Regions from separate parts of the Homo sapiens genome. Here region 2 is linked to region 1. The links are contacts of gene promoters, found by promoter capture Hi-C in human tissues and cell types (Jung and others, 2019). All regions are on one chromosome and are shown on one strand. Each heading gives the region's core, a stretch centred on a gene start or on the middle of the fragment in contact. The rest is flanking DNA. Distances are from core to core; before and after follow the strand shown.

What was found. Contacts are between HindIII fragments. The study calls those that stand out against the background at their distance.
Region 2: a fragment that was not itself captured here is called in contact with the fragment with the promoter of TAS2R16 in region 1 in 3 of the 25 tissues and cell types used here (aorta, small bowel and stomach).

The regions. Positions count from the first base shown.
Region 1 is chr7:122,994,450-122,998,445 of GRCh38, forward strand. It overlaps TAS2R16 (taste 2 receptor member 16), which reads right to left and starts at 1,251. Exons shown (of 1, transcript NM_016945.3): 1 at 255-1,251. The coding sequence starts at 1,185. The coding sequence ends at 310. The HindIII fragment of the contact is 11,039 bases long and covers 1-3,996 here.
Region 2 is chr7:122,947,106-122,951,354 of GRCh38, forward strand. The region is part of intron 2 of LOC105375482 (a long non-coding RNA gene); the gene reads left to right. Among named protein-coding and RNA genes, the nearest start is that of TAS2R16, 46 kb to the right of the region's middle. The HindIII fragment of the contact is 4,621 bases long and covers 394-4,249 here.

The sequences.
Region 1 (3,996 bases), core at 1-2,500:
ATTTTGACTGTCTTGTGTAGAATATACCAGGTGTACAATTCCAGAGTTGGCAAGGACTAAGGAGAGATGGGGCAGTCTTGAGCAAGTTGGAACCAACCTGAGGATTGTGAAAGGGAAAGGAAACCAGTGGAAAAGGATAGAGAAAGGGTTGATTATTTACAAATACATGGCTGCGAAGATGGAAGGGAATGAGGGTTGCATTATGGTGATTCACAATGAATTGATTGATAAGAGCAATACTCTCTTCTGGTATTAATTATATCAATTGCTCGGGAGTCTTTTATCCTGTGCCTCAGGCAACCTCTAGGCCTAGCACTTTCCCTTTAGAATCCTTTTCAACGTAGGGCTGCTCAGCATCAGTGAAGTGGAATGCATTAAGATGAAAGCATAGACAAAAGCTTCCCAGACCCATAACCAACATCTCTTATCAAATAGAGTACCTATAATGGTGATGAGTATGGTTAGAAAGTAAGAGGTAAACACAATAAATAAGACGGCAAGGGACCTCAGGGCAGTGAAGCGCGCTTTCATGCTTGGATTGCAGTGACCAGTGCTATGATGTTGTATCTGCTTGGTCAGTGATGCCATGAGAAAGATGGTGGAGGCCAGGAACAGGATGAAAGGAATAACCAATGCAACTGTATGAGCCTGGAACTGATACTGATGAAAATTTTCAAGTTTGTCAGTTACAGTGCTGTTTCTTGGTAGATGCTCCATGGTGAGTAACTGAATTTGAATGTAATTCCCAATAGCTGAAGGGATGATTGTTACACAAGTAATCATCAGAGAACCCAGTAATATCCAGGGAAACAACCTCAAAATTCTCCACCTCAGCCAGAGAAAGATGTGATGGGTGAAAGAAGAGACCTTGATGCAGTAGAACACGGTAAGCAAGCTGTTTAACCAGAATGTAAGGATATTAAAAAATTCCCAGGTGATTGTTAAGTTGCAAAGTACATAATTCAAATTAAAATAGGAGCAAAAATTGTTCAGCATTGATGCCCACTGTAGACAGAAGCGAGAGATGCCCAGGCTGATGAGAATCATGTCCACAGGCATCAGCCTTCTGACTTGCAGCCATTCTCTGCCCAGCACTGCAACAATTAGGCTGCTCTGCACAATAATTGTCAAGGACTCAAGCACATAGATGATCATGAAGAAGACAGTGAGTTGGATGGGTATCATTCTTCTACTCCAAAGTGTCTTCCTGGACAAAGACTCTGAATCTCTGTACCAATTTCCAGGTAGAGAATGGGTTCCTGATTCCACCACTGTCTGGTACAAGAAAACCCCTCTCTCTGGAAGCAAATTTTCCCAAGCTCATTTTTGATTTTGTCATTTTCCTATCTATAGAATTTGTTTATGCTTTGCTTGCTGGTTTGCTATCACATCTGAATGTAGGGAAATGTTTAAATGTGGATTCCTGCTCCTGAGGTGATTTGATTATTCCAAAAAGGCATATGTATTTCATAACCATGTTGTTTATTTCCTCTTTTTCTGAGGTGCACTTAGCTTATTTCCTTATCTTCTTTAAATGACATCTTCACTCTTTTAACCTAAAATTTGAGCAACAAGAAAGATGAATCCTTCCCTGTTCATTCACGTCCTGCATGATGTTTCTGCTCTGTTGAGTGCAGTACCAAAGCGAACCTCAGAAGCCCTATCTTCCCAGTTCTCATGGCAGCTAGTGGTGGATGCTACAACCAAAGTGTGAGGGTAAATAAAAATGATAATGAAAAGTCTTTCCTCCGAAATTCCACAAAATTGCTGAACCCCAGACCTTCAAGTATTTCCATCCAATGCAGGCCACTCTCATAACTGCCCATTGAATTCCCCCACTTAGAGAAATCAAACTGCAGAGAAAACACTGCACACAGCCTCTCTTAGCTATTGTTCTTCTGCCAATTCCGATGCTTTGAGCATATGCCTTATATATTTTCAGGAATTGTTCTTGTCCCATTAACATCACTGTGTGTTTTTTTTTTTCTCTTACATGGCTAGGTTCTTTTTGTCACTGCTCCCATTGCTCAGGAAGAATTGAAAGAGGACCCTCTTACCACTAGTAAAGCGTATTACTTCTAAATGTGCAGGCATCATTTCATAGCTATACAAGCAGGCTATAAAAGGAATACGTTTTCCTTCAGTTCAGGACAACTCTTCCAAATAGACACCAAATATGTAATAAGTGGCTTCAGAAATGAGAGGTTATTCTAATTGCTAGTTGGTGACAGAGACAAAGTGAAAGTCATTGACCTTATGTATGATAAACTCGGAGTCTGTATGGACTTTTTAGTCATTCAAGGAAGACAACACAGAAGCAAGCAAACATGAATCTTAGAATTCTTGAACACAAAACAAGAAACTACTGAACTCATGAAGCAAAGGTAAGCAATAGCTTGAAAAATTACACCAGAAAACAGAATTAAGTGTAAGAAAGCATCTGCTTTGCATTCTCAATAAAATGCAAGAAACAGGAAATAAAAAACTGAGATGACAAAACAATATATATTATTAAAAGGTGAATTGGTTGAGATGTATCCAGACATAAGAAGGGAGAAAGATGAGATATGAAATGTTGGTATGTGAAACATGCAATAATAGCATTAACCTCTAATTTATGTCCTGAATACACTAAGCATGTTGCCAGCTATATACACTGCCCCATTCTGAGTAAACTTGGAAGGACTGTGATGCTCTCAATCTCTGTCTGAGGGGTTGTGAAAGTGTGGCCACCATACTACACCCCTCATGACTGGATTCCAGCCACAATAGTATGACCAGGAATGAGTTTCTGTCCAAAGCAGCCCCTCATAGACTGGCCTGCTGCATGAGAGATGGCCTGGCACTACTCTACTCCACTGGAGTGTTTTCTATGTGATAGTGGCTGATTAAATAACCCAGATACTCTTTTTGGGAAAGTTTGAAGGTGAGACATACAGAGTGTCCATAGACTGGTGATTGATGTTCCCTGGGGTTAGGAGTTGAGAGTCTGGCTCTTTCATCATGTGTGCATGTGAACCTTCAGGGCCACCTCTGGGGTCTCCTCATTGCAGTGATCCCAATTCTGGTTTGCCTTCTTCCACTCTCCTTTAGCTCACACCCTTTCCCTTATCAGACAGGGGATTGTTGTCCCTTAACTAGTCCTCATTGGTCAGGTGCTGGCAAGGTGACTGAAGCTCAGCTACCTTCTGCAGTGTACATTTGATCTATGGCAAACTCTGGCATTCTTTTCAGTAAAAATGATAAATGGCAGGAGGCCCATGCCTCTCTACTCTGTCATCTCTCCAATTCTCTTTCCCCCTTCTCAGGTAGACATGAGGGAAGGCCCACCAGTTTTTTTCCTAATGTCCCACAGGGAAAAAGAATGCCAATTTATGTTTATAAGCATCTACTATCTTCACTGTTAGAGATTTTGTCTTTTTCTCATTCCTGAGCATACTCCTAGTTTCCTCTAATACTTTATTTACTTCCCCCTGAGGGAGGCAGACTGTTGTATCTTATTTGCAAATTTGATAGGAATAACTTGCCCAATTCTAGACTTTGCTATTATCAAGCAAACATTATATATATACACATATGTTATATATAACATATGTATATATATTAATATATGTATATATAATATATATACATATGTTATATATAATATATAAATGCTTGCTATTATCAAGCAAACATTTTATATTTATATACACATATACATTTTTATATATAAAAATGTATAATACACACATATATACACATATATAATAAATTAAGGGTGTTTCTAGATGGTACTCTTTTTTGATGTGTATGTGTTTGTGTGTTTCATTAAAAAACTTTAAAAACAGGAAAATAAAAGAGCAGGCAATTCGCCAAAGGGTAGACAATAATACCAATTAGTTCATAAAAGGATGCTTAACCTCTCTAGCAATAAGAAAAATACAAATAATACTGAGTAGTTATTTTTCATTTTTCTCATTGCAAAAACAAAATAAAATTTGAATATCAACTCTA
Region 2 (4,249 bases), core at 1,454-3,953, 46 kb before region 1:
TTCTCTAGCCATACTCAATTGTTACAGATGTACTTCATTATTACATATCCAATGCCAATCACTACAACAAGGATTTATACTGTCTGGGGCACACCTGGGGAAACTGTGGTCATGGTAAATTTTGGGATAGATCTAATGGTAGGGCAGCTGTCAGCCAACTTCTTACCTCACAGCAAATTCCCTTGAAAGCAAGTCTGAGCAACCATGACTCCCACACTAGCCACAAGTCACAAACCGAAGAGTATCAGAGTTACAATTTCATTTATTTCCCAAACCTGTGATATTACAACTCTCTACTATAGTTTGTACACTTTACGTAATTGACATCATACTACTTTTTGTACTTCAAATAGACTGTGCATAATTTTCATGTCATTATTGTTGCAACAAAATTGAATTATTAAATAAAATGTGACTTTTATTTTTGGCAATATGGGAGGCTAGTACCTTGATTGACAGTTCACCAAAACAGTTAAAATTCTGGATAAACTGCTACTTATATTAGTGATATTTATTTGTGTATTTTTATTATTTTATTTTATTTATTTATTTTTTGAGACGGAGTCTTGCTCTGTCTCCCAGGCTAGAGTGCAGTGGCATGATCTCAGCTCACTTCAACCTCCGCCTCCTGGATTCTCATGCCTTAGCCTCCCCAGTAGCTGAGATTACAGGTGTGCATTATGCCTGGCTAATTTTTGTATTTTTAGTAGACACAAGGTTTCAGCATGTTGGCTAGGCTTGTCTTGAACTCCTGACCTCAGGTGATCCACCTGCCTTGGCCTCCCAAATTGCTGGGATTACAGGTGTGAGCAACTGCGCACAGCCCCCTTATTTGTAATTTTTAAATGCATTGTTGAGCTTAGACCAAAAAGAAGCCAAGATGGAAACTCAGAAATAGGACTGCTGAGAAAAATTTATTGTAACAAAACTTGGCTCTAGGTTGAGTGGGCGGGGCTATCACCTCAGAAAACTGATAGCCATCATGTGGTCCCAAGATGGATTTGTAGCCCAAATATTCATTACCTGTGGTGCCTTTGACTGTTTGGCAGAAAATAAAAATAAAAAATAAATATAATAAACTGTTGGAGCAAGTGATAATCAACATAAACCTCAAAACAAACTCCACAATAAAGTATCAAGGAAAAACAGTAACATATATGATGGTAACATTTTTCATATATAGAAAAATATCACAAAATATACAAAATAAATATGGAAAATATTTATTGGGGGAGATTCTTCAGAAGGACAAAGAGGAGAAGGAGAAGGACAAGGGAAAGTAATAAAAACTAAAATAGATCTATATTAATTGTCATATACTTAAGGGAAGATACACTTAAAAGATGGTACAAAATATGTTCTGAATTTGGTACAAATGTTGACCACATAAGTGTTTGTGAAATTGCTAATATAAATGCTTGTTACATTGATTGATGTTGGATATATAATAATGAAGTAATATGTAACAATTTAAAATATGTTTTGCAATTTTTTGAGAGATAAGAATGATCATACACAGTAAGTATAAATTGATTTCTAGAAGACAATTTGGCTATATGTATGAAGGCCTATATGAATGTATGAAAATGCATACATTTTGACACAGCAATCTAATTTACATGATTTATTACAAGAAATAATAAGAAACATACATAAAGCTTTATTTACAACAACCATCATAAGATCACTTTGCACAATAGTAGAAAATCAGGAACTAAATATCTTAAATTAGGATATCTATTAAATAAATTATGGCATAGTCATATGATGACATGATGACATGCTGTATTATATCTGCTGGTTTTTAAGACTTTGTGTTTGGTGTTCTGAAATTTTACTAAGCTATCTCTCTCCCTCCCTCCCTCTCCCTCTTGTTCTCTGGATGTTTTATATTAAAGAAAGAGTTACCTAAATTTTTGTGGAGTGAATATCCCATACCCAAAAATTGAATGGAGTGAATACCCCATACCCAAAAATTCAGAAAGCATATTTTTCATCTTAACTATGCTACATTAGTTAAGACGAAAAATATGCTTTCTAAATATATATAAAGACAGTTGAAAAATAATTTGGTTTTAGTGTAACTCAGATAAGTCAAAGAGCACAGGTTCATACCTAGACAAGATGGGAAAAATATCTTGCCTATGATATGTTCTGGAAAAATTTTGGGTGCCAGAATCAACTTTAGAAGTGTATTTACTCAGCAGCTGGGGAGGGGAGGGGAATGGATACTTGACTTGACTTTTCTTCCTGGCCTCTTCATTCCCATGCCAGGGGAGACTAGCAGCAGTTCACAGCTGACAGTGTTTTAGGTCATACCTAACAGATTTTTCACTCACCACTTGGTTCTTGGCTTTCCCTACTCTAACATTTCCAGGGCAGCAGAAATTCTCTAAAGTAAATGTGGTCATTAGTGCTAAAAAAAAAAAAAAAAGTTTGTCGTGTAGGAGTTATAACCATACTATGGGCAAGCAGTTTCATATAACTTTATTTTTTTAAAAGGATTAATTAGCATTTAATATTAAATGCTAACAATCAGCTTTTTGAGTGTGGCTTAAAAAACAATTTTAGAAAACACTACTTAAAATATACATCCAAACCAGAAAATAGTTTTTAAAATTATACCATGTGTCCTGATTTTTGTCCTGTTTTGGAAAATCTTCACCATATTCTCTTAAGCTGGAGAAGAAGTTAACAGAAGTTAAATTTTTACCTTTAAAAATTATCCTAAAATAACATAAACGAAGATGAAAGTTACATTTTATTTTCTACTTGTTTGCACTGTTTGAAGAAACGTATATGTTATATACATGATATGTATGTTATACATGTTATATATATGTTATATATATGTTTTACATATATATATGGGATGCTTATATTACTGTCTGATGTTCACCAATTGCAGCAATTTCCAATAAACATTTAGATATTATTGTTAGTTCCTAAATTTCTAATTTGACTACTATGAACTCATTGAGCAATAATGTTACTGAATACCTATGATAGGTAAAATGCTTGCTAGGTTTTGTAAGAGTCCAAATATATGTAGGTGATGTCACTGCCTTCAAGTTAAACCAAAATTAGAATAAACTGTTTGTGTTATAAAACTCAAGAATCAATATAAATACTCTGTTATCTTAATGTAGAAATTGACTCTAAATTATTCTGATTTAGTACATTGGAACTTTCCAAAACCTTTGATTTTAGCCTCAAAACATAGTAAGAAGTATAGAAGTAAAACATCCTTCCCTACATGTCTTTTGGACATCAGTGATTCTTCACGTTTTGCTGGACTAAAGATGAGTTAAAAGACTTTCTCTAAGTACTTTGATTTGGAGTAACCTCATTGATTGTTTCCTTCCTGACATTACTTTGTGAAATTAGATTGGGACACACTTTTCCCTGAAGAGCTCTACATCCACAAATGTTTCCGATTACATGAAAGCCTTCAGCGTGTGAAGGGTCATCATGCAGAGAAGAGTGTCTGACTTTTCCCTATTGCCATGAATGACAGAATAAGATAATATGAGTTTAAATTGAAAGAGAAGAAGGGATTTGGCTTACCTATGGGGAAGGTTTTATTATTTAAACCCTTCTATCTTAGAGTAGCATGAACCTCCTGTAGTTAATAAGAGCTAAGAGCTACTTGGAACTTACTATGTTTCAGGGATTGCCTTAAGCCTCTTACCTATGTTTACTCATTGACTCTTTGCAGTCATCCTGTAAAACAGATACCGTAGTGCCCCTTTATCCATGGGGGATGTGTTCCAAGCCTACCAGTGAATGCCTGAGACTGCAGATAGTACTGGACTCTATATACACTATATTTTTTTCTATACATACATACCTGTGATAATGTTTAATTTATAAAGTAGGCATAAAGAGACAATAACAATGGTAATTAATAAACAAATATAACAATATACTATAATAAAAGTTATGTAAATGTGATCTTTTTCACTCTCTGTCAAAATATCTGGTTGTACTATACGCACTCTTCTTCTTCCTGTGATCTGTTGATCTGATAACCCAGGTAGCTACTGAGTGAGTAATGGGCAGGTAATAGTGTGCAGTGTGGCTAGGCTGCCACTGCACAAATGGATGATTCATGTCCTAGGCGGGACAGAGCAGGAGGGCATGAGATTTCATCACACTACTAAGGATGGCATGCAATTTAAAACTTATGAATTGTTTGTTTCTGGAATATTCCATTTAATATTTTTGGATTGTGGTTGACAGCAGGTAA